2 separate regions of the Homo sapiens genome follow, and region 1 is linked to region 2. The links are contacts of gene promoters, found by promoter capture Hi-C in blood cells and fetal thymus (Javierre and others, 2016). All regions are on one chromosome and are shown on one strand. The core of a region is centred on a gene start or on the middle of the fragment in contact, and the rest is flanking DNA. Distances in the headings are between cores, read along the strand shown.

What was found. Contacts are between HindIII fragments. The CHiCAGO score rates a contact against its expected background, and 5 or more counts as called.
Region 1: a contact is called between the fragment with the promoter of KLRC1 here and the fragment with the promoter of PRB4 in region 2, in 9 of 17 cell types (M1 macrophages, M0 macrophages, erythroblasts and 6 more). The highest score is 9.3, in M1 macrophages.

Annotation. Positions count from the first base shown.
Region 1 is chr12:10,450,563-10,455,476 of GRCh38, forward strand. KLRC1 (killer cell lectin like receptor C1) reads right to left here and starts at 2,815. Exons shown (of 7, transcript NM_002259.5): 1 at 2,636-2,815; 2 at 408-625; 3 at 1-17. The coding sequence starts at 594. The HindIII fragment of the contact is 4,540 bases long and covers 451-4,914 here.
Region 2 is chr12:11,308,190-11,313,082 of GRCh38, forward strand. PRB4 (proline rich protein BstNI subfamily 4) reads right to left here and starts at 2,247. Exons shown (of 4, transcript NM_002723.6): 1 at 2,146-2,247; 2 at 1,181-1,216; 3 at 32-693. The coding sequence starts at 2,209. The coding sequence ends at 50. The HindIII fragment of the contact is 5,809 bases long and covers 1-2,833 here.

The DNA.
Region 1 (4,914 bases), core at 1,565-4,064, 860 kb before region 2:
TGGAGCTGATGGTAAATCTGCAGGGAGAGAAATGGGAACAGTGCGAAAGGAGAGGTGGATACAGTCGTTTAGAAGATTCACAGACAAGAGAACCTGAATGCACAGGAATCATACAGAGAAACTTGGACCCCAAACCCTCATCTCCCATTGTAATCTTTTTCTCAGAATAATATACCATTGAATTTTCAGGAAAAATAATGCTCCATGAATTATTTGACAAAGACTACAAACTTCAACAATGAGTTCAATCAGTCTTCATACTTTACATTGAAATAGCATATCTCAACTTGGAATTCTGATCTTTGCAAATAGAAGATATATGAGCACTCCCTTCTCTTTCCCCACATTCCTGTACCCCAAGCTGCACATCCTAGACTGTTATATTGAGGATCTTTTAAATGCTTTACCTTTGCAGTGATAGGTTTTGTCATTCCCTTGAAAATCCTGAGAAGCTTTTTGAAGGTTTAATTCCGCATAGGTTATTTCCTGTTCAGTTGCTAAAATGGAGTTTTTATTGCCTTTAGGTTTTCGTTGCTGCCTCTTTGGGTTTGGGGGCAGATTCAGGTCTGAGTAGATTACTCCTTGGTTATCCATCTCTGCAGTGTGTGATGTCAGGGACTGTACTCTATAATAACAGTAGTTAAGAAGTTAATAAATGGTTTATATACAGGATTCCCTAGTGCAATTAAAAGGGTGAGGTGGAGAACGAGTATTGGAGCTCATTTTGCATTAAATAATCTAAAGTTCTTTCTCTGATTTTCTTCAAGCCTAAACACGTTTCTTATGAATATTTGTTTTAAAAAAAGATTTTTAGGCCGGGCGCGGTGGCTCACGCCTGTAATCCCAGCACTTTGGGAGGCCGAGGCATGCCGATCACGAGGTCAGGAGATCGAGACCATCCTGGCTAACACGGTGAAACTCCGTCTCTACTAAAAATACAAAAAGTAGTCGGGCATGATGTCAGGCGCCTGTAGTCCTAGCTACTCGGGAGGCTGAGGCAGGAGAATCTCTTGAACATGGGCGGCAGAGGTTGCAGTGAGCGGAGATTGTGCCACTGCACTCCAGCCTGGGCGACAGAGTGAGACTCCGACTCAAAAAAAAAAGATAAATTTTCTGCATTTGACAAAATATTATTGCTGGGGCAATGAGAAGCAATAAATTACTAAGGAATAAAGAAGTTCAGGAATAAAAATATATTTCTTAAAGTCTGATGTTTTACCTGTGTTAAAAATTAAAATGTTGTATTAGAAAAACTTCTGCACTCATTTTTATGTTAATTTTGAAATCCAGTAATGGTTAAGACTATGTGGTCTGCACATGAGTAATAGTAAAGTTGACATATATATATATAAAAATTTCTTGCACTACATTACTTTTAATTAGTAATTTATACACATTAATGAAAATCAATAGAGGTAATTAAATGGTCTTTTCTTAATGGCTGAAATGTTCTAAGAAATTATTAAAAATTATTTATTAAAAATTATAAAAAATTAAATATTTGTATATGACAGAAAATGCTATGTGACACAGTTAACTTATGCATAACCTAAATAGTATTAGGAACACTACATAAATTGTTAATACTTACAGAAGTATTGGTAATTTAATTAGTAATTGGTAATTTATTTCCTGGCTAAATTATGAACCAAAAAATGATAAATAAAAGTATAGGTAATTCATGTTAAAGCACATTTCATTTAAACTTATAGAATGATTTTATGGTTGTCAAAGTGAGTAAAGGCCACTTTAGTTGTATAAGTACTTGTAAAATTTCAGATAATGTAATTAAATCATTTAGTCAATGGGCTCTGGAGTCAGTGAGATCTAGAATTAATTCTAGCTTTGACACTTATAATGTGCGACCTTTAAAAAGTTATTCTATTTTTAATAACCCAGTTTGTTAATCTAAAATGGGCATAAGAACATATAAAACGTTGCATGTAAAACATTTACCACTCAACCTGGCACTTAAAGTTCTCAATAAGCATTAGCTACTTTAATTATTATTTTAGTCACAATTGTTATGTTACTGTTTCTGATTCATGTCAGTTAAAGCATGGAAAATAAATCTTCAGATAAGTCTCCTATGTCCATGCGCTACATCTTTTTTTGCAATATTTTGATCAATTTTTAAAAAGTATTTTTATTGCTTTGTAATACCTTTAGCATTTTATGTAATCTACCTCATTCTGATTTTTATTAAAAATAAAAACTGCTTTTCTCTAATCTACGTGTCTGAGGAATTGTATTTGGCTTTCATCAATTGATTGATTTATTTTAATAATCTTTAATGGCTAAGCTAAATATAAATTATTATTCAAAGATACATGATGTACTGATTACAAAATACAAAATTAATTGTTCATTATTGTGATGTTAATAGCTTTCCCTTAAACGATATTGATCAACAAACCCACTAGATTTCCACAAACAATAATTTGAAAACTTTAAGAAATCCTTCAACATATTTCATATTTTAGGTTTTTACCCTGAGTTATTCAAATGAAGACAGCAATATTCTACTTTGATTTTATTGTATATTAATTATACCTCCTTTGTATCATATTGAGCACTTGAAATCACCCACTAAATGAGGTAGGCTAGTAGAGAGTTGGAGAGTAGCAATACATACCTTCTGTCCCCAGAAAGTCACACATCCTTTAGTGGAGAGGCCAGGTTAGTCTCATAAAAAGGCCTGCTATAGCTGTGTAATAAAAGGTGAAATTTAAAGGCATAAATCCAAGACAAGAACAAACAATGCCTGCAATCTTCGCAGACTGCCCTGTGAAGGCTCAGAGTGAGTCAAGAGTGGAAAAAGTAGATTTCTCATCAACGTGTTACTAAGGTTTGAACAGGAAATTCTACACATGGGCTATTGTGAAATCAGTTTTATCTCATCACACACCTCCAAAATATAGGATACTTGGTCTATTAAAAGTACAAGGTTGACTTTGAAAGTGTGTCATTTAGTTGGTTCATTTTTCAAGTGCCTATGAGAATTTTTTTTTTTTCTGTCTTGATCACGAACATTGTCAACCCTCACCTTGTTAAGAGTGCCTTTTAGACTAGGTTGCTAAATCTTAACATTGCATACTTCTTTTCTTTATATTATTTTATTATGTCACTTCCATTATAATAGAAAACATTCTAAAACTCATAGTAATATTATCAACTGATATCTACTGATTTTTTCCTTAATTATTCTGAAAAATTACTGCAGTAATTACTCAATTGATTGTAGCTGGCACAAAAAGCATCATTGCCAAAGTTATATTATTAACTTCTCTTAGTTCTTAAATTTTTGCACTTAATTTTTAAAAATAGATTATTTAATCTTCAGATTACCCTTGATAAAAATATCTTGGATAGGTAAAATATTAATCAATTTTGAAATATATTAGCATACCAGAAATTGAAATATTAAATAGCTATTCATTACATTCTTCATTTATTCATCCTCCGCCATAACAAATTATGTCGACTTTCATAGAAATATTTAGTTGTAAATGACAAAAACTGAAGTCAAACTATGTATGGGGAAAAAGTAATTTTAAAATCTTACTAGGAGGAAAGTCAGTAAATTGGCAGAATAGGTGGTCCCCCACACATATGCCCCCACAGCAACAATAATTTTTCAGCCATCCACAGACAAAAGTTCCTTTGAGGGAGTTTGGAATTCAAGTAGGAGTTTGTAAAATGCCAGTGGAACCCAAGACCTAGGAAGGTTGTTTTAGGGAATAGATTTGCATCCAAGTGGCAGACTTACCAACAGTGATTCCATCTCCAGACCTGAAAAGGGACCCATCCTCCTGTGCTTGCCTTCAGCCCCATTTAGGCCTTGGTCATGCTGCCAAAACCATTTGCCCAGGGGCCCAGGAGGAGACTCACACACTAGTGTCTCAGGAGGTAGGCATATCAACTGTAGTCTCAATGTAGACCCTGAAACAGCCCTCTAACTTGGCTTTAACTAGTGTCAGCCACAACTTGAGATCAGTCCTTCACCCACAGAGACTTCCTGGGAGACATATACATCTGTACCTCTGGGGCATGCTTGCTGACCTCTGTCCTACAGAAGATACTAAAATGGCCCTGAATCTCCACTCAAACTCCTCTCAACTGTGACCTGAGTTAATCACAGGAAATTGCTGTGAGACTCAATCATCTTTGTCAGCAGTACAGGCTTGCTGACTTCAGTTCCACGGTAGTTTCTGAAACAGCCTTGAATCTTGACCTTCACCCTTCTCAGCTGTGGACTGTGAGCAGTCTTGCCAGCTCAGGGATACAGAGGGAGGACATGTGCATCCATGTCCCAACTAGGAGACCATTGACCTAGGTTTCACAGCAGATCCTTTAATTGGACAGAAAAGGGGCTTCGACACTTCTCAGCTATGCTAGAGAGCAGTTTGCCCATACAGGGACCTGGAGAGAGACATCATTAGTGCCCCTGCAGGCACAGACCTTAGTTTTATTTCAGATCTTGAAACAATTCTGGATCCAGCTCCAGCCCAACTCAACTACAGTCTGAGGCAAATCTGCCTGCCCACAGACCTGCCAGAAAACACACTCAACCATGACCCCAGAGACAGACATGAAGACACTGGTTTCAGCTATAGACCCCGAGGAAACCTTGTGACTTAGCACTAACTCCTCTGTGCCACAGGTTGAGGAACCCACTCAGAGACCCATGAGCAGCCTTCCCAGCAAACTAGATAAACTCTTCCCCAACTACACACCTAATAATAGACCCACCATTTACAGACCTTGAAGTGGACCCTCATCCCCTCCCCAGCCCTATACAGTATGATTCTAGAGCCAGTTTGGCCCTCTGAGGCACTAAATAGGATACAAGCCTGCTAGAAGCCCTAGTAAAAGGATCATGAACCAAAGATCCCACTCTGGACCCGTAAGCAA
Region 2 (4,893 bases), core at 997-3,496:
AGTCCTGATGAATAATAAAGTGGAATCATACCTGTCATTGAATCCTAGATTACTGGGGAGGCTGTTGTCCCTGGGCAGGTCTGGGTGGCCTGCCCCCTTGAGGAGGTGGAGGTGGCCCCTGGGGCTTTCCAGCAGGAGGTGCCTGAGGCTGCTGGGGATTGCCTCCTGCTGGGGGTGGGCCTTGTGGCTTTCCAGGAGGTGGGGGACCTTGAGGCTTGTTGCCTTCTTGTTGGGGTGGTCCTTGTGGCTTTCCTGGAGGAGATCGGGCACTTCGGGACTTGTTTCCTTCCTGTGGGGGTGGTCCTTCTGGCTTTCCTGGATGAGGTGGGGGACCTTGGGACTGGTTACCTCCTTGTGGGGGTGGTCTTTCTGGCTTTCCTGGAGGAGGTGGGGGACGGTGGGACTGGTTGCCTCCTTGTGGGGGTGGTCTTTCTGGCTTTCCTGGAGGAGGTGGGGTACCTTGGGACTGGTTTCCTCCTTGTGGGGGTGGTCTTTCTGGCTTTCCTGGATGAGGTGGGGGACCTTGGGACTGGTTGCCTCCTTGTGGGGGTCGTCCTTCTGGCTTTCCTGGAGGAGGTGGGGGACCTTGGGACTGGTTTCCTCCTTGTGGGGGTGGTCCTTGTGGCTTTCCTGGAGGAGGTGGGGGACGTTGGGGCTGGTTTCCTCCTTGTGGGCGTCGTCCTTCTGGCTTTCCTGGAGGAGGTGGGGGACATACGGCATTCACTGAATAGTTGCCACAAATTTTTACAGTAATGGAGCTAAATGGGGAAATGCACAAAAATGAGACCCAGATACTAATTTCTTTGCATTTTCAGTGAAGCCCTAGAACTCTGGAGTGGAACGCTGGGGGAAAAGGGAGAAGTTGAGGGGCTCTCAGTCTAAGGAGGAGTCAGAATAAGGACACTGGCCATTTGTCTGTCATCTCCCAGGAGGCACTCCTGGCCAGGGGGATGTCAACCCACTCCTGTTGTCATCTAAGCCAAGCATCTCTGACATTCCATTTGGTGGCCTGCTCATGGTCCCCAGAATCAAGTTTGCATGAAGATTGCCTATATCATTAGGGGCAATAACATTAATCAATTCCTGAAAGGAAAGTGTTGATAAGAAGACACTGGAGAAATGATCCATTTGTAAGCAGAAAAAGGGAGTCAAAACAGATTGAGAATGAATTGGGATTTACCTGATATTAGGAAGAGAGATTCTTCCTGGCTGACATCTAGAAGAGAAGCACAGGATGATGGGAAATGTTACATCTCAAATCTTCAAGACTCACAAGTGTTCTACAGGGAAAATTGTCTTCTCACCACACCCCATGCATCCCCTAGGTTAACTCATCAGCCACCATCTGTGAAGGTGCTGGAAGGGGTGGAAGGTGTAAGAGGAGGCAGGGTTGTTACCACACAGAGCAACAGCAATGAGTTCAACATAGAACAGCCCCTTTTTTTCCTCCCTAGCATCCCTCAAGACTTAATGCTTATTTAGTTTATGCATGCCAGGTACTTCAATGTGATATTTTGGTGTTCTTATGCCCTCCATCTCCTGTTAATATATTGCATACATACACATGTTTTCTCAATAGGGGTAACCAGAAGTAATCATTTCAATACAATCTAACCCATTCCACTCCCAGCACATTGAAATACTGCATGTAGGGGAGAGAAAAATTGTAATGATTGGCTCTGATATTTCTACATCTTTAGTTAGACAGAGACAAGTGTTCTATCCAGTTCTGTCTCTGCAGTATCTCTGATGTGTATGTATCTCTATCATCAATGCCGACTGTCTGTACAGCAAGGCCACCATCATCCCTGTGTACTTACTGGGATCAGTATAGGATCTTCACAGCTGGACTTCCCTGAATCTGCCTTGCACTCTCCACTGCAGCCTTCACAGCACAGTTCTATCTCTATAAATTCAAATCTTACCTTCTCATTCCCCTGGAACAAATTCGTTATTGGATTTCATTGTACATTAAATAAATTAGAAGTCCTTATTGTGGAATGAGGGCACAACAGGTCTCCTGATCCTAGGCATGAAAACTCTGCAGCCCCATCTGTGTTTTCATTCTCCTCTCTTCCCCATAATTACCACTGTCACCTCCTAAGTCCCAAGCAGTCACCGCATCTTTTCCCCCTTCTGTTTTACCTTCACTTGAACTCTCAGCTGAGCTCAGGGCCAGCAGGGCCACTGACAGCAGAATCAGCAGCATCTCGCTGGAGGCTCTGGAGTCACTCCCAACTCTGTGCTGGGAGGAACGTGGCAACTCCCTTTATAAAGAGGAGCAAAACAATGGCACCTTTGAGCCCTGGGTGGGCCTCACCACCTCAGAGACTGGGTTCTGCTTTCCTTACTGCAGGTCAGGTGTATCCCTTATTTCTCTTTGGGACTCTAGCCCAGAGGGATGGGGTGGGTTGGATGTTGTTTGTGCCTTATTTCTAAAAGGTACGACTATGACTTGAATAAAGGTTCTAAAGGAACTGTGTCCAAGCTATCAGCACTGTGTCATAATTGAACTTCAGACATCATTAGAGTTTCAATCCTTTTGGTAAGACTATGTCTGCTTTCCACTCTACTATTTATTTCTGTGTAATATTTGTGGGGGCAGTGAAGCTACAGCCAGCAGTGAAGATGGTCAATTTCTCTGGCTCTTTATAGAGCCTATTTCCATCTCTTGTGATGTGTGTGTACAGATAGTATCACAATTGGCTAAAGTTTTGATGCGATAGAGATGGTTTCTGTTACCTGTGTGATGGTGTGAAGACAACACACTCCTGGGCACACATAGATGACAGAAAGCTGCCCCACAGCCTGCTCGGGCTACAACTATTGTTCAAGCTTCTGTGGATCTGACTCAGCTCAGGCAAGGCTTGTTGTTGTGCCACACAGGAAGGCCAAAATTGTGTATTTTAAAGTACCTTTAGGGGTTATTAATGCAAAATGTACACAGAAACCATAAGGAAATTTCTAGATCTGAGAAAACTGAATACATAATTCCTTGCGGGAGCCATGCGATATCATGTTGCCAAAACTTCCTTCATGCTCTTCCCTTTGTCCAGAATATTCTATAATATTCACCCTCTGCTTCATTTCTTTTAATAATTGTATTGAATTCCTACCACTTATAATTAAGTGGCTACAATTCTACATTCAAATAGGATAATCAGATACCCTCGTTAAAGCCTAAATTGCATTATATTGGTATTCTTGGTTTAGTCAGTATTTGTGTTACCTGTTTTCTCAGATTGTTCTTCCACAAAGAGTATTTTTCTATAATATTCTGATATGCATTCCTCCCCACCTTCTTTCTGGTTCTTCTTTGTTCATATTTTATTTTCTGAGTCAAGCCCATTATGTGTATTTTTCTTTATGTATCTGGCTTTTTTCCCCATGAATTTGGTGAGATTTCCTTTATTTAATCTTCTAAGTATTAGGATATAGTACTTACCATCTTTGTTTCATTCTTGTCTGTGTAATTTCATAATACGTGTTGTGTTTCCAAAAAGCCCTATCAGAGACCTGCATTGTTAGCACTTCTTTCAGCTACTGATTCTTCGTTATATCTGATAAATACCTGCTTATCAGTTCATGGAATATACAGGTTACTCAGTATCAACAGCTGCCATTTACCACTTAGACCTTCCATGTGTCTTGTGTAATTGTTCACATTTTGTGCATGGCTGGTATTAATTTGAGAACACCTTGGTTGGAGGTATGATGGAGGTAGAGAGGGTATGTGACAGTAAATCCTAAAGACAGGCCTCTTGAACATTGTGGATGAGTAGATCCTGGGCTTTGCAGATGAGAATCTGGGTGGCCCTTCTGAAGAGTTGCAGGTAATAGTACAAGCAGACTTCCTAATAAAAAAGGCTTTGCTACAGATAACTTTGCCCTTGCAAGGGAACCACGAAGATTGGTATTTTCCCTGACAAAAATATACACGTACTTGAAATGGGAATACAACTGGAGATGAGCAATCCTGCTTAGGTGGCTTAAGTTAGACCATCAGGTAACAAAGGAATGTCAGAGAAAAGGAGCAGCAGAGGCCAGGCTGACATTGCCTGATATTGTCACCAACTGAGGTTGCTGCAGCCTGATGCAAGACCGACTTCCCCTTGGCAGGAAGGTACAGGAAGAGAATGAAAACCCCCCTAAAGATCACTCATTTCAGGCCCTTTCCTGACCTTCTCCAATGTCAGCAATGAGTAAAGTTTATCAGGAAAGCATAAATATCAGCTATGCACTCACCAGACAAAACAAAAAAGAGGTGATGGAAATGCGGAAAGGGACACTCTCTGTGGGTGAGGGTGGGTGGAAGAGAGAAGCAGGACTGCAGCAGGAACTTGGGCACCTAGACGTGAGTGGAAGCCCTGAGCACTCCACTTGCCTTCTAATATCCATGTTCATATTCTCAGGTCCTGAAGGAACAGCCTTCAACATATGAAATTTTAGGAAACACAATTCAGCTCTCATAACAGCTCCCAACCTTTTCTAAGTCAAGTGTTCAGTGGTTCAAAACTCCTCACTCCCTTCAGGCACTGCCCTTTAGCAAATCCAGTTTCCTCCACTTTCAACACTCATCCCAAATACAACCACTTGCATAATATTTACTAGAAGGTGATAGTTCAGGCCATGATGCTCTCTCCTGAAGAAGTTTAATATCCTCAGTGCTCTTGGTAACATTCCTACCCCAGCACATCCCATATCCATTCCCCTCATATCAGTCAGGGTGATCATTGAAAAGTAGGAATTAGATCATAACACTTTTGTGCTTCCAATGCTCTTAGGATTTTCTTCTGCACTTGTAATAAGATCCAAACTTCATGCCTCAGCTCTCTCACACTCACACATCTCTCTCTTTTTGAAGACTTGGAAGCTCTGTGAATGGAACAGAAA